Linked DNA regions of Homo sapiens: region 1 is linked to region 2. Evidence: promoter capture Hi-C in 16 types of primary human blood cells and fetal thymus (Javierre and others, 2016). All regions are on one chromosome and are shown on one strand. Each heading gives the region's core, a stretch centred on a gene start or on the middle of the fragment in contact. The rest is flanking DNA. Distances are from core to core; before and after follow the strand shown. Region 1 overlaps SLCO3A1 (solute carrier organic anion transporter family member 3A1). Region 2 holds the start of TICRR (TOPBP1 interacting checkpoint and replication regulator).

The links. The method cuts DNA at HindIII sites, captures the fragments that hold promoters and counts their contacts. A CHiCAGO score of 5 or more calls a contact.
Region 1: a contact is called between a fragment that was not itself captured here and the fragment with the promoter of TICRR in region 2, in 1 of 17 cell types (naive CD4 T cells). The highest score is 5.2, in naive CD4 T cells.

Annotation. Positions count from the first base shown.
Region 1 is chr15:91,857,331-91,861,940 of GRCh38, reverse strand. The region is part of intron 1 of SLCO3A1 (solute carrier organic anion transporter family member 3A1); the gene reads right to left. Among named protein-coding and RNA genes, the nearest start is that of SLCO3A1, 5.9 kb to the right of the region's middle. The HindIII fragment of the contact is 216 bases long and covers 1,344-1,559 here.
Region 2 is chr15:89,572,644-89,577,544 of GRCh38, reverse strand. It overlaps TICRR (TOPBP1 interacting checkpoint and replication regulator), which reads right to left and starts at 2,076. Exons shown (of 22, transcript NM_152259.4): 1 at 1,305-2,076. The coding sequence starts at 1,958. RefSeq lists an enhancer at 1,149-1,677 and a silencer at 1,799-2,088. The HindIII fragment of the contact is 7,754 bases long and covers 1-2,268 here.

The DNA of each region.
Region 1 (4,610 bases), core at 202-2,701, 2.3 Mb before region 2:
TGGCAAGGCACCGTGGCTCACACCTGTAATCCCAGCACTCTGGGAGGCCAAGGCAGGTGGATCACTTGAGTCCAGGAGTTCAAGACCAGCCTGGACAACATGATGAAACCACCCCACACCCCATCTCTACCAAAAAAAAAAATAAGAAAACTAGCCAGGCTTGGTGGTATGTGCCGGTAGTCCCAGCTACTTGGGAGGTTGAGGTGGGAGGATCATTTCAGCCTGGGACGTCAAGCTGTGATCCTGCCACTGCACTCCAACCTGGATGATAGAGCAAGACCCTGTCTCAAAATAACAACAACAACAAAAGTGGGGCTTATGGCAGCCTATGTTACTTTTTGCTTTTAAATATTTTCAATGTGTGTTGATTAGGAGGAATAAGTGCAACTATTGTCTAAGTTCAGGAAAGTACTAATGACCAACTATTCCGTGTTTAAAGAGGAATGCCCAGTCATATGGGAAATAACGAGGCTGTTAACACCGTTTCTACTAAACAATCGAGCTGCTAAGTCCTCAGTAAGGGCTTCCCTTTTCAGAGGCACTCGACTCAAAACCACAAAGAAGAACCGAAATAAAGAAGTTGGGAGTCACCAACTGCTGAGGTTCTGTGTACATCCAAGGGAATGTTTCCAGTCTCTGTGTTGTCACTGGAACTCATGGATGAAGGCTCCCCTGGCTTGCTCACTCCACACCTGTGGCTGCACAAGATTCAGTGCTTTACACACAATTCCTCCCTCGGCAAAGTCATCAGAGTGACCCGGCTTTGGGGCTCTGAGGTCTTCTGAGCACAGACTCTCTCCTGAAGCCTGTGGCATTTGAAGGTGAATCTAAAAACTCACCTAAAACATACACTGCCACCTGATTCACTGAGAAAGGCCCAATTCCTTCTCTATCCTTCGCAAGGACAGGTGTGACCAGACTGGGGGCGGGAAGGCTGCTTCTAAGACTACAGATGGAACGGGAGTGGTGTTGTGCAGAAGGTATGTCCGTAAGCCGAGATGGATGAATCCATGGGATGGGAAACCAGGTTGCAGGAACAGGTCCATTGTTCTGCTTATGAGAAACCAAAAAAAAAGACCAAGCGTGGGGAAATGCCCACAGACCTGCTTGCCAGAGTCCACTTAATACTGCAAGAGAACACGAGGTGAAGGCAGCAGACAAGACGTGAGACCTGAGCCCCTCTGGGCAACCAAGGCTGAGCTCTGCGAAGGCACGTTTTAAACAAGGCTGCCTGGAGGGCAGCATATGTCCACAACATATGTCCCTTTGTCCTCGCCCTCCTGACACCTCGGGCTCCCTTGAATTGGTCACTCAGCCTTTCAGCCAGTGAAGCAGAGCAAGCTTCAGGAGCCCAGATCACCAGTTTAGGAAACAGAAGCCTTGGCCTCACACAATATTCCAAATCCTCAGCTCCCTGGGAGGGACTTTTGTTGGTGCTAATGTCAACGAGCAGGGTTATACCATTACTGTTAAAGCAACTGTGGAATACTGTACCCTATGAGAAGTACTCTATCACATGACTATTTGTTTAAACCTCACAACCATCTGTAAGATAAGCTTGATCATTATCCCCATTTTTCAGATGAGGCTATTGAGGCTCGAGTAAGTGAAGTTGCCAGGAGCTGGGAAATAGCAAGTCTAAGTTCAAATCCAGGTCTTCCAACTCCAAGTCCAACATTCTTTCCACCTACCCTCAGCCTTCAGCACCCAGTGGCCACAGACCACAGCAAGAGATACTGAGGACCTCCCAAAGTGAAGCATCAGGGTACCTGCCCCGCCCAGCCAGTCCTGCCTGCCCTGCTTTAACCTCCTTCAAGTACCCATGGACTGTAAATGATCAACATGAATCACCATTCCTGCAGTGGGCTCCTCTCCCATGTGACTAATTTTTATAGCATCTTTAAGATGAAATGGATTGCTATATTTATAAGGGAATAAACAGAATTAGCAACTGATATTTAGCTTATTACTTGCCCTTAAAAACTTTTTACCTCCCAGACAAAAATGTCCATGTAGAATAGGAAACTACTTGAATATGCAATTCACTAAACCAAAACTAAAGTTTAATTGAAATAATTTTATTTCTCATTGGTTGGGGCTACACGGTTATTATGTTTGCAGTAAATATGCATAACCATATTATTATTAATAGTAATAGCTAATATTTCCTGGGCACTCACTATGTGCCAGATATTGTTCAAGGTGCTTTACATGTACTGACTCAGTTCATCCTCACAGCAAAACAGAGGGTAGGTACTATTATAACCCCAGTTATAAAATGAAAAATTGAGGTACACAGAGATTAAGTAAACAGCTCAAGGTCACAGAGCAGGTAAGGGGAGGACATAGGCATGAATCCCAGTCTTCTAACACTCATCGAATAAGCGACAGCTGCCACAGACACTTGCCTTTCTCCACCTTGGAACTGTAATCATTTAACTTGGAGTTTTAACCATTAAGCAATAATTTGTCTCATGCTAACACATAAACACTTAGGCTACATAAAATACAAGTGTCTTTGAATCACATCAATTCATTTATCCTATGAGCCAAGGTCCATGATTCCACTGTTTTTCCTGTTTATATCTGTTTTCCAGATACAGACATAGAAACCGAAAATAAAAATGAATTGAAAGAGTAAGGATGCTATCTTTCTGGCCTACAGATTACCAAAGGCATTTCCGAGAGGCAAGAAAATACCGAGATTTTCTTCAGGGGAGAACGGTTCCAAATCCATGTGTCAACCATACAGTCAAAGTTACCATTGAAATGTCCCTTCGCACCTTCAAAAAGTATGGCATACAATATTCATTGTATGCAACGCTGTACACAAACACGTATGTAAATATGCAATGCATGCGGCAATGTACAGAATAGAGTACATATGCAGAAGAGAAGTACTTTGACTCCACTTTAGAGAAACATGCTTATTAAATGATGCATGTAGTGAAATCTGCGCGAGTTGGAACTAAAGCCAGAGAAATGCAGCTAGTAGGGAGTTTTATTCTTCACTCTTTCTGCATGAAATGCAGCTGTATCCTCATCATTTTTGCAATACTACCCTTGTTCATCCAGGCCAATCTGCTAAGAGAATACAGTCCCTGATCAAGGCAGCACCTCAAAGTTTGCTTTTAGGTGTGCAAAATAAATTCACAGAGACCCTGTTGGTGGGGCTGCCTTTGCCCAGCAGTTCACCAATGACTTCGTGCAAGAAGCAGCCCATGCAGCATAACAGAAAACACGATTCCAGCAGCACCCAAGATGAGCTGCAAATGCTGGGCAATTGATTAGCAAGGCGGTGCCACTGCAGAGAGGCCTCTTGGCGATCCTTTTCATAAGGTGTCTAAAATTGAATGAGGGGAAGAGTTAACAAAATGCAGGATAGAGCCCTCGCTCATTTTACAACTCATTCAGTTTCTTCTATTGTTAAATACACCAACAAAAACCCCCTCACAAACAAAGATAAATACACAAACCTGGCTGAAAAGAATTTTCAGAAACACCTTTTTCCCTTAATAATTATTAACATTTTGAATCTAGCTATAAGGAAAAAAAAAATCAAGGTAATTTTATTTCTTACTACCTGGGGCTACATAGTAATTATGGAAATGGCAAGGAATTTTGTCACTTTGAGTAAGCATAAGTGTATAAAATAATTTGATTAAATAAAATACGGTTACCTTAGTCATCATAGTAATTTGACAAGGACTTTAAAAATGTCTCTCTCTGTTGAAAATGTCAACAGACAGTTTCCTGAGCTGTCTGCTTCTGGGTTGAATATGCAGAAACTCATCTTCGAAATGATGTTTCTTTAGAAAAAAAAAAGGAGTAACAAACCTAGCAGTTTCGCCTCACCCATTAATTGCAAGCCCACTTGACTATTCTCAGGCTGAAAGAAAAAGTGTGACTACAAAGCAGTGAGATAGAGCCTCATTAACCACACTCAGTCATCTATGTCATTATTTTGTCACCACAACCTCAAACTTATTTTTCTATAACTCTAAATAGGGAAATACCTACCCCTTGTTCACAGGAACTCCCTTTGTGCCCCACCCAGGAAACTAGACTGGCCTTTTTTCAGTTTTCAACCTGAGGAAATTCAAATGTATTTGTATGTATGCCTCAAACTAATCATCTAGAAGTGTCAGAGGCTTTAATTTCCTGTACACACCCTTATCTACTCCAGTCCTCAGTAATTTGATACCACACAGAAACCTCTATATGCAGGGCTACCCTCAGCGAGTGGCTTAAAACATTTTAGGGGGTCTCTGCAAAACACCAATAGGCACACACAAAATGACTTTCTCCCCATGCAGTTCTCATATGCCTGCATCTTCTCCAACCAGTCCAAGACTTAAGCACATGTTACATCCTTGCAAACAGGACTGGAGCCACTCGAAGCCAAAACCCAAGTAGAAGAAAATTAAATTGCATTCTCTGTTCCATACAAAATGACTATCAAACCGAGCAGGCCTCTCCTCTTATGCTGCAAAAATTATGTCATAGCCAGTCAGGAGGTTTAGGTGACTATGATGGAACATCCCTGTGACTATTGGTTTATCTGAAGCATGGTTTCCAGTTAAGATGTTTGTAACCGTAATAGATTTCAG
Region 2 (4,901 bases), core at 827-3,326:
CACCCCATTTTATTTTCTCCAGAGCATGATTTGAAATTGTCACTTGCTTATCTGTTTAATCTGTTCCCTGCTTTGGTTACCATGTCCCCAGCAGCTCAAACAGTGTGGTAGGCACTCAGATGTTACTGGCTTCTCAATGAACATTTGTTGACTAAATGAAGTGCAATGAGAAGGATGAAGGCAAAAGTATATACTTATCCTAGCACTTAACAGGAGCAGGGGGCCTCACCGCCTCAGCAAAAATCCAAATTAGCCATTTAAGACTTTAAGTTTGCAAGAATGTACGCAAGAATGTACTCATTTAGTCAGCCAATACTGACTGAACACCTACAACGTTTAATACACATCTGGGTGGCTGGGCGTGGTGGCTCACACCTATAATCCTGGCACTTCGGGAGGCCAAGGCAGGCGGATTGCCTGAGGCCAGAGTTTGAGACCAGCCTGGGCAGCATGGAACCTGGTCTCCACTGAAAATACAAAAAAATTAGCCAGGCATGGTGGCGTGGGCCTGTAGTCTCAGCTACTTGGGAGGCTGAGGCATGAGAATCGCTTGAACCCGGAGGGGTGGAGGTTGCAGTGAGCCACTGCATTCCAGCCTGGGCGACATACACTGTCTCAAAAAATAATAATAAATAAATATATATATGTATATAAATAAATGTGTATATATATGTGTGTGTGTGTATATATATATATATATATATATATATATATATATATATACACACACACATACACACACACCCCTGGGTATTGTGTTAAAACCTGCTGCTTGCCTCTGAGGTATTTTTAGACTAGATGGAGGGTGAGAGATGTGCATAATCAAAACATATGGAGAAATGGTTAAGTGCCACACAAAATGTGTATGGCAATTCAGACGCTGGACTGAGCAGTTGTCACTGGGAGAAGAAGCCTTAAAGGGTAAGTGAAGTTAAGACTGGCCTGGAAGAGTGAGAACTGGCATTCCAGGCAGATTGAACAACACACATAACACAAAACAAGCAGTCCAGACCTGTTGATTTTCTGGACTGGACTTCAATATGCTAGAGTAGATGTAGTGTGTAGGAAAATCAAGTCTGGGAAGGCAGGTAGGGCCCAAATTGTGAGGGGTCTTAAACAGTAGGTAGTGAGGAACTACCCATTTTGTTGTGAAAACTGTTCCTATTTATTTGTTTCCTTCCGAAGGGACGCATAGTCATATTAGTCTCATTCGGGGTCTGTGGCTGTTCTAAGGACGCTGCCAAGTTCTGGTTAGCAAGGAAAGCACCGTGCACGCCATCTGAGACGACAGTAACCTTCCTTACCTTAGACCATTCGGTGGTATCCACCCAGTAGAAGGTGATTTTTCGGGCGACCATGACTTCCCGGACTCTCTTGGGCAACAACTTCTCCATCACCTGCTTAGGGGTGGGCGGCAGGCGCTGGGCCTGGGCCTCGCACCCAGACACGAACTGCAGCAGCTCCCTCTGCGAGTGCGGACAGGGGGCCAGGAGGAAGACGGCGTTCACCAAGCCCCCGAGCGCGGCCTCGGCCTCCTTGGCCTCGCTCTCCACGTCCAGCAGTCTCCTCCCGCTGCTCCGCAGGATCGGCTTCGTGGGCGACGTGATCTCGGGCCGGTCCCACTGGTAGTCTAGCAGCGTCTCCATCAGGGCGCCGTGCGTGTGGGTGGCCCTGGGCGCCGGGCCGGGCAGGTGGGCGCGATCCTCGAGCCTGGCCTCCAGCTCCTCCTCAAAGTCCTCCCACGAGCGGGACCCCAGCTCGCGGAAGTCAGACACGCGGGACGGCCGGCTCCGCGCCCCCTGCGAGTCAAAGAACTTGAAGGCCCAGTGGACCCTGGCCAGGCCGAATCGGCAACTCAGATAGGTGAGGAGGCGCAGGGCGGCCCGCCGGACCCGGCTGTGGCGGGCGGCGCCGCCCGCGGTGTCCAGCAGCAGCATTACTTTGTGACAGCATGCCATATCGGCCGTGCCGCCGCCCCGGGGCCCCGGTCCGGGCCCGCGCCACCGTCCCTTAGTCCCTTCCTTCAGGGAAACAGCACCACTCACTGCTTTCCTTTGGGACCCTGGTCGAAAGGCTCCCGCGCTCTCCAGGAACTGCTGCTATTGGGGGAGCTAGTTTCCAAGGTTTGCTCCTATTGGCTGCTTGCCTTACGTAAGTTACGAGAGCAACTTCCATTTTTGGCGGTGATTGGAGGGGCAGTGGAGAAAACTTCAGTCTGATTGGTGGAGGGAGTGACGGTGGGCGGGTCTCTGTGGTCCGAGAGAAGCTTAGCATTCATTGGCCTGGGCCTTCGTTTTAAATTTTAAAGAGGTGGTGCCTCGGGGGCGTGTCGAGAAGTTTCGCCATTGGAAAGAGGCCAGCGTTTGTGCGCAGTCGTGAGTGCGGACTGCGGGGCCACGTTTCCCAAGACCGAGGAAAACTTAGTGCCGGGAGGGAATTTGGGATGGTTTGAATCGAACTTGTTGAAATCCCTGTGGACCGCCTAGGAAGTAGAATCTGACGACTACGGCTTTTTCTGTAATTTAAAAAATTTTATTAAAAATTAAAGGTTCACTCCCTTTGCCCCAGTAACTTCTAGGAGTTTATCTGCAGAAGGTAATCGGAGAGCCAGATAAAAGACGTCTGTACATCTTAGAGTTTATTTAACATCAGAAAAAATGGAAACAGTTTGGGAATGGTTAAATAAGGTATGGTACACGCCCAAGGGGAGCATCGTGCAGCTCCTTTTTTTTTTTTTTTTTTTTTTTTTTTTTTTTTGAAACGGAGTCTCGCTCTGTCTCCTAGGCTGGAGTGCATTGACACGATCTTGGCTCACTGCAACCTCCACCTCCCGGGTTCAAGCGATCCTCCTGCCTCAGCCTCCTGAATAGGACTACAGGCGCACGCCACCACCCCAGACTAATTTTTGTATTTTTAGTAAAGACGGAGTTTCACCATGTTGGCCAGGCTGGTCTCAAACTCCTGACCTTGTGATCCACCCGACTTGGCCTCCCAAAGTGCTGGGATTACAGGCGTGAGCCACCAAGCCCGGCCTAGTGCAGCTTCTTAAAATAGTGTTTTATTATGTAATGTTAGGTTTTAAAAGTGGACTGCAAGCAGCACCTGCAGTGAATTCCCTAAATTTTCTATCTACATGTATATATAGATAGAAATCACATGTAGATTTGCATTACAGATAGAAATTATATATCGCTATATAGATAGAATACATAGAATTATATATAGATAGGCCGGGCACGGTGGCTCACGCCTGTAATCCCAGCACTTTGGGAGGCCGAGGCGGGCGAATCACCAGGTCAGGAGATCGAGACCATCCTGGCTAACACAGTGAAACCCTGTCTCTACTAAAAAAAAAAAAACAAAACAAAAAAAAAAGGAATTATATATAGATAGATAATCATAGATAGAAGTTATATATAGATAGAAATGCATTTATATGCATATTTTTAAACTGTTAATATAATATTGTGTACCGGAAGTTGTCTGTGATGGTCTCTCCATGTGATTTTTTTTGAAACTTTTTTACACTTCCTCTTGCTGGACACCAGTGAACAGGCTGATTTCAGAGATGTGAGATGTGCCTCTAGGATCAGTGGAATATGGTATTTGGAAAGAAGAAGGGGACAAAAAATGAAGGTCGGTTACCTGAATATGTGTTTAGGGAGATTGATCCAATACTCCACACCATTGAATTCTGCTTGCTAAGTAATTCTGTTTCCACCTGGAAACAGAACAACTTCCTTTATATGCTTTGGCTACAACTTCCTTTATGTGCCTTGGCTTCTCCAATCAAAGTCCTCAGCAATTACTGCCTCATGTACAACAATTTTCTCTTTTGGTTGAGTTTTCTAGGGCTGCCTGCCATAACAAAGGATCAAACCCAAAAATTGCCTCACAGTTCTGAAGGCTTGATGTCCAAAATCAAAGTGTTGGCATGCACTTGCTCCCCTCCAGCCCCCATGGCTCTAGGGGAGAATCATCCTTTGACTCTTCTAGTTTCTGATGTTTGCTGGCAATTCTTGGTGTTCTTCCTGTGTGTCTTCCCGTCATCTTCCCTCTGTGCATGGCTGTCTCTGTGTCCAAACTTCCCTTTTATAAGGACACCAGTCATGTTGGATTAGGGCCCACCCTAATGACTTTATTTTAACTTGCTTACTTCTACAAGACCCTATTTTCAAATAAGATCACATTCTGGGGGATGCTGGGGGATAGGAGGACCTTAACATATCTTTTTTTTTTTTTTTTTTGAGATGGAGTCTCGCTCTGTCGTCCAGGCTGGAGTGCGGTGGCGCGATCTTGGCTCACTGCAAGCTCCACCTCCTGGGTTCCCGCCATTCTCCTGCCTCAGCCTCCCAAGTAGCTGGGACTACAGGCGCCAGCCACCACACCCGACTATTTTTTTTTTTTTGTATTTTTAGTAGAGACAGGGTTTCACCATGTTAGCCAGGATGGTCTCGATCTCCTGACCTCGTGATCCACCTGCCTCGGCCTCCCAAAGTGCTAGGATTACAGAAGTGAGCCACTGCACCCAGCCAGGACCTCAACATATCTTTTTGGGAGGACACAGCTCAGCTCATAACACCTTTCATCCTTATGCCAGTCATTCATTTCACTCATCCAACAACACTTACTATATACCAGGCACCATTCCTGCCCTAATGGAATTTCCAGTCTAATAGGTAGGGGATCAGACATTAGACAGATAATAATACAGATGAACATAATATGAAAAAAATTTTTTTTCCGAAAAGAGGTTTTTTTGTTTTGTTTTGTTTTGTTTTTTGAGACGGAGTTTTGCTCTTGTTGCCCAGGCTGGAGTGCAACAGCGTGATCTTGGCTCACTGCAGCCTCCACCTCCCGGGTTCAAGCAATTCTCTTGCCTCAGTCTCCCGAGTAGCTGG